3 separate regions of the Homo sapiens genome follow, and all the other regions are linked to region 1. The links are contacts of gene promoters, found by promoter capture Hi-C in human tissues and cell types (Jung and others, 2019). All regions are on one chromosome and are shown on one strand. Each heading gives the region's core, a stretch centred on a gene start or on the middle of the fragment in contact. The rest is flanking DNA. Distances are from core to core; before and after follow the strand shown.

Evidence for each region. Contacts are between HindIII fragments. The study calls those that stand out against the background at their distance.
Region 2: a fragment that was not itself captured here is called in contact with the fragment with the promoter of PPDPF in region 1 in 1 of the 25 tissues and cell types used here (mesenchymal stem cells).
Region 3: a contact is called between a fragment that was not itself captured here and the fragment with the promoter of PPDPF in region 1, in 1 of the 25 tissues and cell types used here (dorsolateral prefrontal cortex).

The regions. Positions count from the first base shown.
Region 1 is chr20:63,518,974-63,522,256 of GRCh38, forward strand. It overlaps PPDPF (pancreatic progenitor cell differentiation and proliferation factor), which reads left to right and starts at 1,792. Exons shown (of 4, transcript NM_024299.4): 1 at 1,792-1,921; 2 at 2,311-2,390; 3 at 2,539-2,616; 4 at 2,695-3,233. The coding sequence starts at 2,336. The coding sequence ends at 2,906. LOC102723814 (a long non-coding RNA gene) reads right to left here and starts at 1,700. Exons shown (of 2, transcript XR_430332.4): 1 at 1-1,700. RefSeq lists enhancers at 1-48, 49-925, 926-1,802 and silencers at 1,075-1,324, 1,385-1,934, 2,045-2,244. The HindIII fragment of the contact is 19,807 bases long and covers 1-3,283 here.
Region 2 is chr20:63,252,835-63,255,892 of GRCh38, forward strand. It overlaps NKAIN4 (sodium/potassium transporting ATPase interacting 4), which reads right to left and starts at 1,629. Exons shown (of 7, transcript NM_152864.4): 1 at 1,563-1,629. The coding sequence starts at 1,616. It overlaps FLJ16779 (a long non-coding RNA gene), which reads left to right and starts at 1,144. Exons shown (of 1, transcript NR_024389.1): 1 at 1,144-3,058. RefSeq lists enhancers at 885-1,416, 1,417-1,948. The HindIII fragment of the contact is 7,354 bases long and covers 1-3,058 here.
Region 3 is chr20:63,904,603-63,907,651 of GRCh38, forward strand. All of the region lies in intron 1 of DNAJC5 (DnaJ heat shock protein family (Hsp40) member C5), which reads left to right. Among named protein-coding and RNA genes, the nearest start is that of DNAJC5, 11 kb to the left of the region's middle. The HindIII fragment of the contact is 9,611 bases long and covers 1-3,049 here.

The DNA of each region.
Region 1 (3,283 bases), core at 542-3,041:
CGGGTGACCTGGAAGGCCGTGCTGTCAGGCGTGGTCGGCAGTCGGCCCCACGGCTCCTTCAGGGTGGGCCTGGACCACAGACACCTCACCAGGGTCTCCCGTCCCTGGGCGGCTGCATATGGGTCCAAGCAAGCCACAAAGGCTGTGCCAGCCAAGCCCAACGCAGGCCGCCCCTACAGTCCCTGCCCGGCCCTGCACCCTCCCCACCCCTTCCCAGGTGCTGATCACCAGTACTCACTCTGCACCCCAAACCCCAAACCCCGTCTCAGCGTCTGCCCCTGAGGACCCTCTGAGTGTCAACCCAACTGACCCGTCTGCCTCATCAGTGACCCCTCGGGGCTGCACACCTCTCCCATCGCAGGTCCTGGCACTGCTCTCCGGCACCGAGCTCCCCCTCCCAGGTGGGGCTCAGGCGGTTCCCTGCCCTCCGTCCTTAGACCTCAGCTGAAACCTGAGCTCTCCCCACCACCCGCCCCCGCCAGCCTCTGCACTGCTCCCCACGGGAAGGCCGTTCTCCCTTGGTTTACCGTTCCCTGCGCTTGGCTCGGCCATGTGCACATAGTAGGTGCTTACCACACTCGTGCAATGAACACACAGAGCGGTGCAGGGCCCAGGACAGCGCCTTCCCCACGTGCTCAGGGGGCACAAGGGCGTCCCTCCAAGTCTTGCTCAGGGGCCTCCCAGGGTCCCTGCCCAGCTGTGGGTCCTCACTGAGCACCCGGCGAGGACAGAGTACGGCATCCGTTGGCCTCGATCTCCGGAACAACACGGGCACACGGCCGTCCCAGCCAGCAACGAGAGCCACGAAACAAATCCACCCGGGCTGACTCCCGAAGCCCTCGGACTGTTCCGCCCCACGGACCTCCCGGACCCTCTCTTCCACGGGGAAGACACCGCCCAGCCAGGACCGGGTGTATAAAGAAACGGGATTTCCGTAGGGGCAGGCCGATTTCCCCTGCGGGGCCGAGGGAGGTGTGGGGAGGATTCTGCGCTGGGGGGAGGAGGAGAGGGAGGACGCCTTTCTGCCTGGGAAGGGAAAACGCGCCCCCTCCTGATTGGCATGGCGGGCCGTCCCCCGGGCCCCAGGGCCCTGCCGGGAACGCTCTGGGCTCCCCAAACATGGGGTCTCCGAGCAGTGGGGCCCAGCCTCTGCCTCCGGCGACTGGAGACTCACCTCACCCGCCCAAATCCGCCCCGCTCTCCGACTGGGCCCCGCCTCCCACTGCCCCGCCATCCGCCCACCCTTTCACCGCCCCCTGCGGGCAGCAGGCGCGTCCTGGGGCTGGGCAACCGGGGTGCAGGTTCCGGAGCTGCCAGAGCTGTGAGGGGGACTCGGGAGAGATCCAGGTTCCTCTGGCTGCGAAGTCCCTGGAGGCCGGGCCGGAGGGCTCCGCGCACGTAGCACTTTTTGGCCCGCCCGGCGCCCCCGTCGCCTCCACAAGGGCTGAAGAGGACGGGCGGGCTGGACCAGGCGGGGCTCCGAGACGCGTCCGAGACGGGGGCCTGGGCCCGGGAGAGGGGCGGGGGCTGGGCTCCCGGACCCGGGCGCGGGGCCTTTTAACCCCTGCAGACCCAGGACCGGCCGGGCCGCCCCAAGACGAACGCCGCAGGGCTGGGCTCAGCCCAAGCCAGACGGCGAGAGTCGCACCGAGGTGGAAGCTGGGGGCGCGGCCTCGCCGGGGCCAGGAAAGGGGCGGGGCCGGGTGGGGCCCGGGGAGGAGCCTGTGCGCCCCGCCCTCCGTGACGCGCCGCGGCCCCCGCGCATATAAGTGGGCGCGTCCGCGCGTGCGCACCCCGCGCGCGCCTCTCTGTCGTGGCGCGGCTTCCCGCGGTCTTCTCTGCAAATGGGCTCCGTGGCCTAGCGCCCCCGTCCCCGCCACCCGTGATCGTGCGCCGAGGCCCGCGAGGGGTCGCCGCCCAGGTGAGGGGCGCCGCGCGCGGGTGGGACGAGCAGGCCCGAGGGGCGGGGGGCGAGGGGCGGGGCTGGGCCGGGGGCTCCTCTCCTCTCCGCCTGGCGAGCGCTGGGCTCGGGGTCCCCGGCGGGCTCCTCTCGGGTCGGGCGGGTTGGGACGGCGCCCACCAGGTTCCCGACGTCTGGGCCGGGGCCCCGCGCACAAAGCGCCTTTGTTCCACCCGCTCGGCCGGTTTGGGCTGGTTGGAGCCGCCCGCGCCCCGCGCGGCGAAGGCGGTGCCGGGAGCTGGGGAGCCCCGCCTCGGTAAATAACCCAGCGCGGCGGCTCCACCCGCTGGGGAGCGCCCTTCATGACGGAAGGCCGCTGACCCGAGGGGCTCCTCCACCCCCATGCGCAGATCCCACCAGCCAGCAAGCTAAAGCATGGCGGCCATCCCCTCCAGCGGCTCGCTCGTGGCCACCCACGACTACTACCGGCGTGAGTAGCCCCTGCCCCCCATCCACGCGGATGCTCTGCTGGCGCCAGTGCCGGCCCCGTGCAGGCTGCGGAACCAGCGCTCGGCCTGAAGGCCGGTGGGCTGGGGGGCTCCGCGCCCCGCGTTGCTGACGGGACCTCTCCTCTCCAGGCCGCCTGGGTTCCACTTCCAGCAACAGCTCCTGCAGCAGTACCGAGTGCCCCGGGGAAGCCATTCCCCACCCCCCAGGTGAGTGCAGGATCGCCCCTTTCTCCCCCCGCTCCTCCAGGAGCTGGCAGCATCAAGACCCCACTTCGCTTCTCTCAGGTCTCCCCAAGGCTGACCCGGGTCATTGGTGGGCCAGCTTCTTTTTCGGGAAGTCCACCCTCCCGTTCATGGCCACGGTGTTGGAGTCCGCAGAGCACTCGGAACCTCCCCAGGCCTCCAGCAGCATGACCGCCTGTGGCCTGGCTCGGGACGCCCCGAGGAAGCAGCCCGGCGGTCAGTCCAGCACAGCCAGCGCTGGGCCCCCGTCCTGACCTGAGCGGTTACCACCAGCCCCAGGCCTGCGGAGGCGCTAGTCCACCAGAGCCCCTCCCCGCCCCTCTCCCCACTCCGCATCCCTCGCCCCCCTCCCCACCTCCCACCCCCCACCCTGTAAACTAGGCGGCTGCAGCAAGCAGACCTTCGCATCAACACAGCAGACACCAAAAACCAGTGAGAGCCCCGCTCTCTACCGCCCGGCCCCAGCACTCGCTAGCTTTCCTGACACCTGGAACTGTGCACCTGGCACCAAGCGGAAAATAAACTCCAAGCAGCCAGTAGCCCCGATGGTGTGTGCCTGAGCTGTGTGGCCCGAGGTTCCATTTGAGTGTGAGAAATGGCTGAATCCCTCCCGACCTCACTGCCTTGTGGG
Region 2 (3,058 bases), core at 187-2,686, 270 kb before region 1:
ACCCCACCCGCCCCTCTGCACCCTGAGGTCACATCCGACCAGCACAGTCGTGCCTCACCCTGCACCTGAGACTGAAGCACCCATTTCTCCTGCCCAAACCCCAGCACCATCAACCCCAGCACATCCTCACACCACCTTCAACAGATGGAAACCAATGTCACTAGTGTCCCCCAAAGCAGCCTCACTTCCTGACGCTCATGCATCACCAGCTGCCACTGGCCATGCTCCAAACTGGGGTACCGTCCAGGCTGGTGCCTGTCCTTCATGAGGTCATCCGACGGGCACTGGAGTCTTCGAGTGCCCACCCTTGCTCTCCCCATTCCTGCTTCCAGCCCCTCCCCACCAGTCTCCTAAGGGACTCCTGCCATTGAGGAGCCACTCACTGAAAGATACCAACTGTTCCAAGGCCTGGGATGGTCCTTGGGCCCCCAGCCTGTTGCAGGACCTCAGGTTATCTCCGCGGCCCCAGCGAGCCTCCCAGGAAAGCGCCGGAAGCTCCTTCCTTCCTGCAGGAAGGACACGATGCCTCCGCCGTCCCTAGGTCCGCCCGCAAGCCTGTGCCCCTAAGCCGAGCACAGGACACCCAAGCTGCACAGCCACGGACTCCGAGGGTTTCGCTGCTCAAAACTCTGAAACAGCCCCTTCTGGCCCTTCTAGCTTCAAGAGGAGGAGGGGGGCGCGCGGTCCAGCTGCGCTCCGCAGCCCACAAAGCATCGTTTCCTTTTTAAGACGGGAGACCCAGGGCCAATTAGCATCGAAGCAAAGCAGCTTCCCCAGCCTGGACAGGCGAGGCCTTTGTTTAGCCCCCTCCCCCGAGGGCACCGGGCTCCGGGAAAGAATCCGCCCCCCAGGCGTCCCAGGGAGCTTCGGACTCCGGGGCAGAATGGAAACTTGGCCGAGGGAGCCCCGACCAATCCCGACACCGAAGACGCCCGCGCTGCGCCCCGGGCATCGGCTCCAGCCCCTTCTCGCCTCCGCGTAGCTCCACGCCGGGCGGAATGGGGGGCGGCGGGGGCGGGCGGGGCCGGTTTGCTCGCGGGTGGGCAGGACGTTCTCACCCCCCGCCCCCTACACTCGCAAACTCGCAGGCACAGCCTCCGTCATCGCCCCACCCGAATCTCAGAATCGGAACTTGGCCGCTCACTCGGCGCCCGGGGCCGGCTGCGGGAAACGCTCGCACAGACAGAGACAGGCGCGCACCCGGGGGCGCACCCGGGGCCACACACGCCTCCCCAGGCGATGGGGTCCAGGCGGCCCCGCCCGAAGGCTTCCGTCCGGCCAGCCCATCCAGCCGCTGCCCCGCACCTGTCCCCGCCGCTCCGGACCCGCGGCCGCCCCCCGCGCACGCACACCGGGGACGGGACCCGGCGCCGCGACTCCCCACGCCCCGCAGGCGACGCCACCTTCGGCCGTAGCAGCCCGGGGTCCGAGGCATCCCCCCTCGGAGCTGGCGCGGGACCCAGCGAACGGGCCCCGGGGCGGAGGGACGCTTCGGGACCCCACAGCCGCCGTGGGTCGGGCACCGGGGGCTCCAGGAGGCTCGCGGAGGGGTCGCCACTCACCAGCTGAAAAGCGCAGAGGACGACGAGCGCGCAGCGGCCGGAGCAGGAGCCCATGGTGCCCGCCTATACAGGAGGCCCCCGGGTGCCCCGCGCTCGGCCCCCGCCCCCGCTCCGCCCGCTCCCCACGCGCCGCAGCCTGGACCCCGCCCCCTCCGCATCCCGTTCCCCCCTCCTCCCCGCAACCCCCGGCCCAGCCCCAGCCCCGGGTAACAGCTGCGCTGCGTCTCCCCTCCCACCCCCGCCTGCGGCCCCTGGGGGCTTCGCGCCGGCCGGAGAGGGGGACCGTTCTTAAAGGGGCGATGGCGCGGCCTCTCGGGTAGCGAGGGGCGGCGCCGCGGCCCCAGGACAGACCTGCAGCTGAGGGGAGCCCGCCCTGGACGCGGCAGGGATGACCGGCGTCCGCCCCCTCCTGCAGGATGACCTGCCCAGCACCTGCTCCCGCCGTGCGCCCTCCGGCGTGAGATCCCCATCAACCTTCCCCGTGTGGGGTCTGAGCGACCCGCATCCGCGAGGCGTTTTCTCTGAGAGTCTCAGAGATTCCTTGGCTTGGAGAAGTCCTGGACCCGGGTCCAGAGCTCAGAGGTCCCCTCCACGGGCGGGCGGGCCGAGGACTCAGGAGGAGGGAGTGAGCCGGGCTCGCCCACCTCCCACAGGGAGCTCCTCTGCTGGAAGGCTGAGACCTGAAGGCCAGGTCTGCTCCAACTGCCTGGACCGGCCTCCTGCCTGCGCGGGAGGGGCCTAGGGAGCCTCGGGTTGGGACAGCCTGAGGCCTTGTGCACGGTGGAGGCAGGACCCAGCTGCCCAGGGCAGGTCCTGGGGTCTGGATGGGGCTGAACCCCGTAAAGCCTGCGCTTCCGGAAGAAGCTTGCGCTGGAGGCAGGGAAGGGTCCCAGCCAGGCCCGAGAGGAGCAGGACGTGGATACAGTGAGCCAGAGTGTCAGCCGGTCGGAAAGCCCATGGGGGCAGAACAGCGGGAGATCAGGGCAGGTGGCCGGGCCAGGGCTGCCACTTGGTCTTTACTCAGTGGCAGGGCAGGCTCCCTGACTGCCACCCACCGCCTGAGGAGCCTGAGATGGGTTTCCCATGGCAACCTGAATTCCTGCCCCACTCGAGATTTTATGAATTACTGAGGATTCTTGCCTTCCTAATTTTGGTTGTGTGTCCCACAGTCCCGGGGATCAGGAGGGGTTAACAGAAGACCAAGGGTCAGGTTTTCTGCACTGCGGGGAGCCACCCCAGATCTGTAGTCCAGGCTCATGGGCGGGTGAGGGGGTAGCTTCCAAGCCCCAAAGGTTAGAGAGCAAAGGTGTGGCCAGTTGTGGAGGGAGGGGGAGCGTCAGGTTGTTTGCAGTGCTGGGGAGATAAGAATATTCAGGAATCAGATGGTGGTGATGGTTGCACAGCTCTGTGAATATACTGCAGCCCACTGAGCACTACACTGTAAAGGGGTGACTATTATGGTGTGAGGATTATATCCCGATTTTTAAAAGATGTGA
Region 3 (3,049 bases), core at 138-2,637, 390 kb after region 1:
CTTGTAAACCTGCTCTGGTTAAGGATAAATAGGCAAAGTTGTGCTAATGCTGTTCCTACAGCAGCCTTTGCCCTGGACTGACTCCAGAACAGCTGGCTGACTGACAGCTGCCTCCCAGTAAAGCCTTAAACAGGCTTATCTTATATTTTTAAAAGGCAAAGGACAATAAGGCAGATTAATAAACTGTGGGGGTTTTTTTGTTTGTTTTTGTTTTTCTTGAGACAAAGTCTCGCTGTTGTACCCCAGGCTGGAGTGCAACGGCGCGATCTCGGCTCACTGCAACCTCTGCCTCTCGGGTTCAAGCGATTCTCCTGCCTCAGCCTCCAGAGTAGCTGGGATTACAGGTGCCCGCCACCACGCCCGGCTAATTTTTGTATTTTTAGTCTAGACGGGGGTTTCACCATGTTGGCCAGGCTGGTCTCGAACTCCTGACATCAGGTGATCCGCCTGCCTCGGCCTCCCAAAGTGTCAGGATTATAGGGTGAGCCACCGTGCCTGGCTTTTTTTTTTTTTTCCTGTCTTTTGTGTATGTGATGGGGTCTCGCTCTTGTCGCCCAGGCTGGAGTGCCATGGCACGATCTCGGCTCACTGCAACCTCTGCTTCCCGGGTTCAAGTGACTCTCCTGCCTCAGCCTCCTGAGTAGCTGGAACTGCAGGTGTGCACCACCATGCCCGGCTAATTTTTGTATTTTTACTAGAGATGGGGTTTCACCATGTTGGCCAGGCCGATCTCGACCTCCTGACCTCAAGTGATTGACCCACCTCAGCCTTCCAAAGTACTGGGATTGCAGGTGTGAGCCACCACACCCGGGGCTGGATTTTTTTGTTTTAAGAGACAAGGTCTCACACTCTTGCCCAGGCTGGTTTACAGTGGTGCAGTCACTGCAGCCTTCACCTCTGGGCTCGAGTGATCCTCCCACCTCAGGTTACAGGTGTGAGCCACCACACATGACCGCACATGGCAGATTTTTTTTTTTTTTTTTTCACGGAGTCTGGCTCTTGTCACCCAGGCTGGAGTGCAATGATGTGATCTCAGCTCTCACTGCAACCTCCGCCTCCTGGGTTCAAGCAATTCTCCTGCCTCAGCCTCCCGAGTAGCTGGGATTATAGGGGCGTGCCACCCTGCCCAGCTAATTTTTTTTTTTTTCTGGAGACAAAGTCTTGCTCTGTCACCCAGACTGGAGTGCAATGGCACCATCTTGGCTCACTGCAACCTCCGCCTCCTGGGTTCAAGCGATTCTCCTGCCTCAGCCTCCCGAGTAGCTGGGATTACAGGCACGTGCCACCTCACCTGGCTAATTTTTATATTTTTAGTAGAGACGGGGTTTCACCATGTTGGCCAGGCTGGTCTTGAACTCACTGACCTCAGGTGATCCGCCTCAGCCTCCCAAAGTGCTGGGATTACAGGCGTGAGCCACTATGCCCGGCCCAGGATTTTTTTTTTAATTAAGGAAAATACTTTTTACATCTAAAATTCTACGCGACAATAATTAATGTGTCTTCAAGCTGAGAATTAATTAAAATATAGCCAATAAAACATGTATTAAGCTTTGTAAACTTTGTCTATATATGTACTTATTTTACTTTTATTTAAAAATATGGGGCCAGGCACGGTGGCTCACACCTGTAATCCCACCACTTCGGGAGGCCAAGACGGGTGGATCACTTGGGGTCAGGAGTTTGAGACCAGCCTGGCCAACATGGCGAAACCCCTTCCATCTCTACTAAAAATATGAAAATTAGCCAGGTGTGGTGCAGGCACCTGTAATTCCAGCTACTCAGGAGGCTGAGGCAGGACAATTGCTTAAACCCAGAAGGCGGAGGTTGCAGTGAGCCGACATTGCTCCACTGCACTCCAGCTTGAGCAATAGAAAGACTCTGTCTTAATAAATAAATTAATAGCCGAGCACGCTGGCTCACGCCTGTAATCCCAGCATTTTGGGAGGCCGAGACGGGCAGATCATGAGGTCAGGAGATCGAGACCATCCTGGCTAACACGATGAAACCCCGTCTCTACTAAAAATACAAAAAAAGCCGGGTGTGATGGTGGGCGCCTGTATATAGTCCCAGCTACTCGGGAGGCTGAGGCAGGAGAATGGCGTGAACCTGGGAGGTGGAGCTTGCAGTGAGCCGAGATCGCGCCACTGCACTCCAGCCTGGGTGAGTGATCGAGACTCTGTCTCAAAAAAAATTAATTAATTAATTAAAATATGACAGTGGCCTGGGTGCCATCGCTCGCACCTGTAATCCCAGCACATTGGGAGTCTAAGGTGGGAGGATCACTTGAGCTCAGGAGTTTGCCTAGCCTGGGCAACTTAGGGAGATCCTGCCTCTACAAAAAATAAAAAATTATCCAAGTGTGGTGGTTGCACACCTGTAGTCCCAACTACTTCGGAGGGTTGCAGGAGTCCAGGAGGTCAAGGCTGCCGTGAGGTGTGATTGAGCCACTGCACTCCTACCTGGGTGATATAGTGAGACTCTGTCTCTAAAATAAAATAAAATAAAATAAATGACAGTGGTCCATATAGTACCTTATTCAGAAAAGGCTTGATGTACAAGAAAATAAGTTATTTGTGATCAGGACAGAGAAGAATTACTGCCTTTTGTGAAATGGATGCTGAGAATCAGTTACGATGTACGGTGCTTGGGAGGCTGACTTTGATTTCAGTTACAGCCCTGCTGATCCTTAGCACGGTGACTGCAAATAGGTTACTCCACCTTCCTGAGTCTCAGTCTTCTTAGCCGAAAAGCACAGATCATCATCATAATAGCTAACATTAACTGTGTGCCTGGCATAGGGTCTGACCGCTTTATTCAAGCCAGCTCCCAGACATACCTTGCTGGACTGTTTAATGCCCATTCGACAAAGAGGAGATCGACATGGGGAGGTGTTGAGTAACTTGCCTGGCCACTGAGTCCCTGTCAATGGCAGCTCAGACAGGTGACCCCAGAGCTACCCTCCCACCCCCTGACCAGGCCCGTCTCACAGGCCTCTTAGGAAGGGCTCTGTTCAGTAGATGGCAGGCACGTGGTAAGTGTTTCCTAAGCT